3 separate regions of the Homo sapiens genome follow, and all the other regions are linked to region 2. The links are contacts of gene promoters, found by promoter capture Hi-C in blood cells and fetal thymus (Javierre and others, 2016). All regions are on one chromosome and are shown on one strand. The core of a region is centred on a gene start or on the middle of the fragment in contact, and the rest is flanking DNA. Distances in the headings are between cores, read along the strand shown. Region 1 overlaps BBOX1-AS1 (BBOX1 antisense RNA 1). Region 2 holds the start of LIN7C (lin-7 cell polarity scaffold C). Region 3 overlaps BBOX1-AS1 (BBOX1 antisense RNA 1).

Region 1 (2,753 bases), core at 5-2,504, 310 kb after region 2:
TGTTGTTTTTTAGATTAGTTTAACATAATGCATTGAGACACACACATGACTCAGTGAAACGGTGATCTATTTCCAGCACAGAAATCTCCTGGTAACATACCCCATCTCTCTCACATTGTCACCAATACAGAATGAATTCCAAGTGGTATTTGTTGCACTAATCTTGCTGTGCAGATGACAAGCAGTTTTTCTTAAATATCTGTTTCCAGTTCTTCCAGAGATATAGACCATACTTGTTTTGTTTCACGTGTGTGCGTTCCACATCCCCATCCCCAGCCCCAGTAGCTAAAATCAAGTATACTCATGATTACTTTGGTAAAAATAATGTTTACTAATTGTTCTTACAATATCTTACATGTTGACCAGAAGTTTTATTGACTCTTATTTAAAAATAAATAATAATATAAATAGGAATGACATTATCTTTCTGTTCAAGAATTTCTGATAGGGCCAACATTGTGTCTGGTCAGTGGCCTATAATCTGCTAGCATAAATCTCTCATTTTGTAGAAATGGAAGGGTCATTTTTTGCACTGTTGTTTTATGACATTTATTTACGCAGATACATAGCATAAGTTTATTATGAAAATTAAAAAAATATCCAGGTGATTTTCTTTTCTGGGCTCCTGCTTTAGACATTTGAACCTCTCAACCATCACTCCTTTAAACAGTTCAGGCCAGGCATGGTGGCTCACACCTGTAACCAACCCCAGCACTTTGGGAGGCTGAGGCAGACAGATCACCTGAGGTCAGGAGTTCGAGACCAGCCTGGCCAAAATGGCGAAACCTCGTCTTTACAAAAACAAAAATTAGCTAGGTGCGGTGGTGTGTGCCTGTAATCCCAGCTACTGGGGAGGCTGAGGTAGGAGAATTGCTTGAGCCCAGGAGGTGGAGGTTGCAGGGAGCTGAGATGGTGCCACAGCACTCCAGCCTGAGAGACAGAGCAAGACCCTGTCTCAAAACAAAACAAAACAAAATATCCAAAAGTTCAATAAATTTTCCTGAAGAGATCTACCCCTCCCCCACATTTTAATCCCTCATATTGTGAAGAAGTTATTTTCTGTGTACAGCTGGAAACTCCCCAACTTTCTTCAAATCCTGCTGGCTTTGGGTAGGCCCCTGATGTCCTATTTGAGGCTAACCTAGTAAGGGGAAAGACCGTTAGATTATAAGAGGTCATTGGCTTAGGCTCTGATAGTGGGATGCTAGGTCTCAGCTGAGATGAAGGGAATTGATGGTCCTGTCCTGGATGGGATTACTGATGGAGGACCCAAGTTGCCCAGAGCTGACCTTTTGACCTTCAAAACTAATGTAACATGGAAAACCCCTCCCAGAGCCATCCTTCTTCATGGCAGTGTCAGGAGCCTTCTGTCTGAATATCTGACCTGTGTGGAGCGTTATATATATAACAGAGACAGGGCACCTCTGAGAAAGGTGATGTTTACCATGAGCAGAAAGAAGACCGATGGAAAGTCCCAGCTTATCTAAAACCCAAGGACCAGTCCTCGAGATAACAGCACACTGTTTTTAAAGCATTTACACCCAGAAAGAGGAATTTAGCAAGGTGCCACAGCATGGCCTTTGTGGCATTAATTGGGTCTTGTTACCATTGCCCAACCGTGAAGGTCTGTTTTGGAGAGTACCACAAGGTGGTTGGGAAAAGGAAATTTATATAGTACTTATGAGTCTAAAATTTTAGCAATTGGTAATAACAAAGTAAGATAATCTTGGTTGTGGAGAAAGTGAGATTAAATATGTGGAGGGAGATTTCTTTATGAATATTCCCTCCTCATTTCTTAATAACAACTATCAATGTGAGGGCCTGCAACTCTCAGTGCTTTGCAAAGACTTGCAACAACCTTGATTGTACCATCTCCTTTTACAGATGAGAAAACTGAGGGTCAGAGAATTTAAATAACTTGCCTGTGGCATAGAACTGCATACACAAATACACATGCATACGGGATGGAAAAATTGCACGAATAAGCCACTGAGAATCTCCATACTCCACTGTTAGGACCTAGAGGCCAATTAGTGGACAGACAAGTAAATAGCATAGGTTTTCTAAAAAACAATAATGAACAAGTCAATCTCAGTGAATTTTGTGAAAACAGTCAAGACTCAATCCCATACCTTTTTCATCTTCACTTATTGCCCTGAACAGTAGCAACTGAATGTTGTTACTGGTGAAAATGGTGCCAAGGCCCCATCAGATTTTCAGGTTACAAAGAACATTACTGTCATGTTTGCTGACTTTGACTTCCAGAGCGCTACGCTGGATTCACACTTTCTGGAAAGAGCTTCAACGGAAAATAGTAGAATAATGAACCTTGTCTTGCTTATTCCTCGGTTAATGACAGCATTCTAATTCATTAAGGTTCCTCTGTATTTATTTGGTACATTTCAAGGAACAGAATGGACAGGGTGGCTGGAGTGGAGTGAAAGGAAGGTGGGTGGCAGATGAGGCTGCAGAGGTGGCAGAACCAGCTCACAGTGTGATTTGTGGGCCCTGCCAAGAATCTGGGATTTTATTACAGTGCAAAGGGAAGCCACTAAGGAATTTGAAGCCAGAGAGTGACATGATCTGATGTAAAATTTAAAAAGATCATCCTGGCTGCTTTGTGTACTTAATGTTTGTGTAGTGAATGCATTGAAAGGGGACAAGAAAGGCCAGGACAGTTTGGACTTGGGTGGTGGCAATAAAGGTGGAGAAAAGTTGATGGATAGATTTGAGATATATTGGAAATAAGAATT
Region 2 (2,982 bases), core at 26-2,525:
TGCCTGTAGTCCTCGCTACTGGCAAGACTGAGACAGGAGGCTCTCTTGAGCTGTGATTGCACCACTGCACTCCAGTCTGGACAACAGAGAGAAACTCTGTCTCTAAAACAAACAAAAAGACTTGGAATCAGGAATAAATATGGTTGAAACTATACTATCTGGACTGAAGTGGTGGTTGCACTTAGTGGTAATGAGAAATGAAGTTAGTTGGATGAGTTAGGGTCAGAGTATGCAAGGCTTTAGAAATAGGAAACAGGAGAGAAACCATTGAAAGTTTCTGAACAGAACTTGTGATGATGAAATCAGAATTCAAGGGGAGAAAAAGGAGCATAGTGGTGGCATCCATGATGGATTTGGAGAAGAAAATACTAAAGGTGAATGGAAAGGGTGGACCAGGGGCAAACAGGTTATTAAAACAGTCCCATCATGAAGTGTTGAAATGCTGGATGTAAACACACCTACCACAGTATCAGTACAGACTAAGGGCTTGGATAAATGTTAGTCAAATCCAAGTACTAAAATTCTTCTTGGTTCGCGAAAATTTCAGAAGTGGCTCAAAAATCTGTAATGCATTAAGAATATTATTTGCTTCACAATATTTCATTTACTTAAGATTTTATAAGAATCAGCTGCTTATAAAATTGTTACTTTGTGGTGCACCAAAGCACCTTGTTCTCTCCCTCACCCAGATATGTTTCATGCTCTTTGTACTTTCCACCCCTTAACAGATTTGGAGGGAAGATTCAAGCCGTGGATTTTTAAATTTAAAGCAATGCTGTCACAAATTGAGAACTGACAACATGTCATTACACATTTAATTGCCACCGAATCCCAGAGTTTAAAAATTGTAAGGACCTAAGAGATAGGACCTCTCGTTGTACAGATGCGGAAACTGAGGCTGAGAGAGGGTAAGTGAACAGTCCCAGGTCACAGAGCTGCTAATGGGCAAGGTGGGACTAGAATCCAGGCTTGACTCCTCTACGCTGAGCCAAGGGTTCGAAGCGATTGGGATAAGGGAAGCCTGAGGCAGGGAACGAGAGTCAGGAAAGCAGCTCTTCCCAACCCTAGGAGGCCGGGGGACCTCGTCACCGCGGAAGGAGCGGAGCCAGGCCGACCTAAAAAGCCGCAAGTCCAGGTACCCTTACCCTGATGGCCGCGGCGACACACTCGGCCACCTTCCTGATCTCGCGATACTAGCCGGTACTCACTTTTCCGGCTTCCCCTAGGCCCCGCCCCCCCACCTCAGCCCTTCTGTCGTCATTTCCTGTGGGTCTGTAGGTTAAGGGAGAAGATGGCGGCGCTAGGGGAACCCGTGCGGCTGGAGAGAGGTGAGTGCAGCCGAGGCTCGGCGGAGGTGGGCGGAAGGGTTGGGGGAGTGCTGTGTCGCTGGAGGGGAGGAGGAGTGACCCAGGCTCTGAGATCCGGGCCACGCTGTCCCTTGTGCCGGCGCCAGAGGCCGCCGTTGTCTCTGTGCCTGGCTCTAGGAAGGGCGCTTACGGTATTTTGTCTGTTAACCGTAAGCCCTCCTCTGTTCACACGGACTGTTCCAAGGCACAGCACAACTAAACACAACCTGCCCGCTTCGCAGACACACGCCGCACACGCGCTCCCTTGGTGAGCACAGCAGAAGCAGCATTCGGAGACCCGTACACCCGAAAAGCAAACGTCACACACCCGGTTCGCACAGACTACACTCATTGCCTGTACAGCACGAGAACGGACACACGGTACAATTCAACAGAACCTCCTTTCCCCGCTGTTTGCACACAAACTCCTTCATTACTTTCTCCACAACCTCGCTTGTATTCGGGTTGGGGTATTTGCTAGCTTTTGTGCCCCTCCTAGAAATGGAGAGGTTGCTTTAAAAACAATCCTACTGACTTGGTCTTGGGAAGGAGGTTACGTAAGTAAGCCGAATAGTGGTAGATGCTAAAACACTTGCAGGTGCAGTGTTTTTCATTTCTTACAAACCCTACAATTGCAAACTGGTTGGCTGATTGCTTCCTAGAGCAGACTGTCAAGGAAAATAAAACCACCTCTGCTGAGTAATTAGAGATAGAGAAGCCTACGAAAATAACTGGCTATGCGCCTACCATGATTTCCAGCATTCCAGCGTTTCCAGTCCTTTTACAGATTTCCAGCATTCCACTCTGTCCCTAAGTCCTTTATTTCAAACAATTTCAAGCATGCTTTTCATACACCAGCATTAGAAATCATTGATAGGAATTGAGAAGTACAAATAAACATTTTGAGTACTGGTGGTAAAAAAAAATGTATATGTAGGATGGAGACTGAAATTATATTGCACATATTAACATTTGCAATTAGTCTAAATATTACTATTGTTCCCTAAGAAAACACATTTTTAGAATTACTGTACTTAGAAAAACCTCTTTCCTAATGCCTTCCCACAAACAAATGTGCACTTAATGTTGCTGATTTGCTCTTTACCGTGTTCACCATTTGGAAGCCTCACTGTAAATGAGATTGTTTCCGTTAAGCCTATTAAAGCATCATTTTAGAGGACTAGCTACTCTGGGAAGACTTGCCGAGTTAGGCCTAAGTCTCTGACATCTTCCTCTTGAGCACAGTGGCACTGTGTTTTATAGATGGGAGCAAATCTGTTTGGTGTTAACAGGAGTAAGTTTTTTCTTTGAAAGCTAGTTAAGATTCTAACGTATTGGTCTTTTGTGTTTTTGTTGTTGCTGTTTGGAGACGTAGTCTTGCTCTGTCGCCCAGGCTGGAGTGCAGTGGCGCGATCTCGGCTCACTGCAACCTCTGCCTCCCGGGTTCAAGCAATTCTCCTGCCTCAGCCTCCCGAGTAGCTGGGACTGCAGGCGAACGCCGCCAAACCCGGCTGTTTTTTGTATTTTAGTAGAGACGGGGTTTCACCGTGTTGCCCAGGCTGGTCTCGAACTCTTGAGCTTAGGAAGTCCGCCCGCCTCGGCTTCCCAAAGTGCTAGGATTACAGGCGTGAGCCAC
Region 3 (2,818 bases), core at 65-2,564, 300 kb after region 2:
CAAGGAAGTGGGGAGCCAGGAGAGTCAGCAGACAAACCCATGCCAGAGTCTATGAGGGCTGCTTGGACTCATACTCCAGAGAGTCCAGAGGCAAAGTCCAGTAAGGTCGGGAGAGATGGGGATTACACATAAAATCTTAAAAGCTGGATTGCATCTGGAAAAGGCCACAGTGCAAGTTCTGGATACGTCCAGGTAAATAGGTACAATCTGGATTTAAGGAAAAGAGCGTACATTGTGTGTGCGAGTGCCAGGTGATTTCAAATTAGGTGTCATATTAGGCATTGAAAGATAGCCAGATAAATCCTAGCATTCCCTGGCAACACCACAAGGGGGCAGACATTCAGGTGGGAGGGTTATGTTATAACAGGAAGAAACATTGATTTTGGTTCTTAGTCCCTTCTTAGCTCGTAATAATAGCAGTTGCATGTATTGAACACTTACTATGGGTCACAGACTGTGAGCATGCAATCTCCTTTAATCTCCGCAGCAAACGTATAATATTAAGACCTATTTTTCCATCTTTTTTTTTTCTTTCTTTGAGACAAGGTCTCACTCTGTTGAACAGGCTGAATGCAGTAGTGCGATCATAGCTCACTATAGCCTCGAACTCCTAGGCTCAAGTGATCCTCTTGCCTCAGCCTCCTCAGTATCTGGGACTACAGGAACATGCCAACACATCTGACTAACTTTTAGTTTTTTCAGTAGAGATGAGGTTTCACTACGTTACCTGTGCTGATCTGAAACTCCTGGGCTTAAGTGATCCCCTGCCTGGGCTTCCCAAAGTGTTGGGATTATAGGTTTGAGCCACTGTGGCCAGCCAGATTCTCTTTTATTGGACAGGAAACTATAAGCCTTGGTCCATATCCACAAGGTATTGATGTTGCCGTGACCACAGAATGATAGAATATCAGAAACATCCCTCTGATCAGTCCTGTCCTCATCTTCTCTACCAAGTCTAGGCCAAGTCTGGGGGCCTGAAGGCCAGTTTTGGGATTTGCTCCGTTGTAGAAGGCTGTAGAAGGTGGCCCATCTACTCACTCACTCGCTATATGTTAGTTGAGGTGCCCACTATGTGTCAGAGAATGTTCTTGACATAGGTGACGAGATAGACCCTGCTCTTACAGACCTTGCAGTCACAGGAGTGACCAAATTACCAGTGTGATAAACTCTTTTGTTAAGGAAGGTAGCAGGTGTTATAGGGACTCATAAACGGAGCACCACTTAAATAAATAAGAGGAGACTTCCTGAAAGAAGTAACAACTAAACTACATACACGGAGTCAAGCTCTGCATGAAAGGTGCCATCAAGGCTTAACATTCAAAGGGCATGGTCATATTCACTGTATACACTGGCATGGAGCAGAAATTTAAAACAAAAATGAAAAAGTATAATTAAAAACCTAGGCTTAAAATTAAAAAAAAAAATATATATATATATAAAAAACAGAACCCTTGTCTGCCATCTCTCTCACCCTCAGCACTGTGCAAACCCATCTGGGTACTGTTCAGTTCTTTGAATGCTGCTTGACACGGACAAACAAGAGGGCATTAAAAGGGGAGGTCACAGCTGGGCGCGGTGGCTCATGCCTGTAATCCCAGCACTTTGGGAGGCCAAGGCGTGTGGATCACATGAGGTCAGGAGTTCGAGACCAGCCTGACCAACATGGCAAAACCCTGTCTCTACTAAAAATACAAAAATTAGCCGGGCCTGGTGGTGGGTGCTTTTAATCCCAGCTACTTGGGAGGCTGAGGCAGGAGAATCACTTGAACCTGGGAGGTAGAGGTTGCAGTGAGCTGAGATCACGCCACTGCATTCCAGCCTGGTCGACAAGAGCAAAACTCAATCTCATTAAAAAAAAAAAAAAAAAGGAGTTCACCAAGAAGTGGAGAGATTTGAAGCATTATAATGCAAGAAATTGGTTGCATTTTGAAGGGTACACAGTGAGGTAGAGGCATAGCAAGGGGAAGCCTCACTTCTTGTCTGGGCTACAGTAGCCCTCCATCTTCCTCCTCTTTACACACACTCCAGATGAAATACCCTATATGATGACTCAGAGTCATTAATAACATGACCACTTGTGCAGCCCAAAGATTAGACAGCCAAAGCCAAGAGTCTGTTGTGTTGAAGTGGCTCTGGGTGGGAAGCATTCTCCCCAGAGACTGGGGCAGGGTATGACTTGCCAGGGGAGGGTTTGCAGAATGTTTAGACTGTGACTCATGAAGGTCTTAGATGAATAAATAGCTCTCTTTCTGCTGTGACTGTTGACAGGGCTGGTGACAGCTTACCTTTGCAGTTGCCAAGGAGAATCTCACTCTGATTTTTGACAAGTTCAATTTTCCTAACCAGCTGGGGTCTCCAGAATGGCCACCATGAATAAAGGCCTGGCCAAATATAAAGGGCAATGAAGCAATAGGTAATATTTGGAGGTATGAAATCTGAAGTGCAAACATCTCCTCCCAGCCAAGGAAGAGTCATCATTGGGAAGGGAAGATTAAAGGAAGAAAGTTTTCTGCTTTCTGGATTGGGAAAACAATATCTTGCATCTTTGTGTGGCTAGTTGGCCATTTTATTAATAGTCTTAGAGCTTCATAATCCTGGTGAGAAGAAAGATAGTCCTCTTTCTGGAAACATCTATATAATTTAAAATCTATTTGGCTATAAGTAATAAAACCCTGACGGATAGTGGCCCACACCATATCACTTTGATTATCTCACATAATAGGAAGTCTGGAGATAAGTAGTCTAAAGTGAGAACAGCAGTTCCACAGTATTATTGAGTTGACGGGCACTTTTTCATCTCTATATTTATGTAGGTCAT

What was found. The method cuts DNA at HindIII sites, captures the fragments that hold promoters and counts their contacts. A CHiCAGO score of 5 or more calls a contact.
Region 1: a fragment that was not itself captured here is called in contact with the fragment with the promoter of LIN7C in region 2 in 7 of 17 cell types (naive CD8 T cells, activated CD4 T cells, naive CD4 T cells and 4 more); the score reaches 6.8 in naive CD8 T cells.
Region 3: a fragment that was not itself captured here is called in contact with the fragment with the promoter of LIN7C in region 2 in 1 of 17 cell types (erythroblasts); the score reaches 5.5 in erythroblasts.

Annotation. Positions count from the first base shown.
Region 1 is chr11:27,191,062-27,193,814 of GRCh38, reverse strand. All of the region lies in intron 2 of BBOX1-AS1 (BBOX1 antisense RNA 1), which reads left to right. Among named protein-coding and RNA genes, the nearest start is that of BBOX1-AS1, 26 kb to the left of the region's middle. The HindIII fragment of the contact is 3,277 bases long and covers 1-2,753 here.
Region 2 is chr11:27,505,062-27,508,043 of GRCh38, reverse strand. LIN7C (lin-7 cell polarity scaffold C) reads left to right here and starts at 1,275. Exons shown (of 5, transcript NM_018362.4): 1 at 1,275-1,328. The coding sequence starts at 1,292. BDNF-AS (BDNF antisense RNA) reads right to left here and starts at 1,192. Exons shown (of 7, transcript NR_033315.1): 1 at 1,146-1,192. RefSeq lists enhancers at 869-1,158, 1,229-1,358, 515-1,714. The HindIII fragment of the contact is 9,378 bases long and covers 1-2,982 here.
Region 3 is chr11:27,209,088-27,211,905 of GRCh38, reverse strand. All of the region lies in intron 2 of BBOX1-AS1 (BBOX1 antisense RNA 1), which reads left to right. Among named protein-coding and RNA genes, the nearest start is that of BBOX1-AS1, 8.3 kb to the left of the region's middle. The HindIII fragment of the contact is 6,569 bases long and covers 1-2,818 here.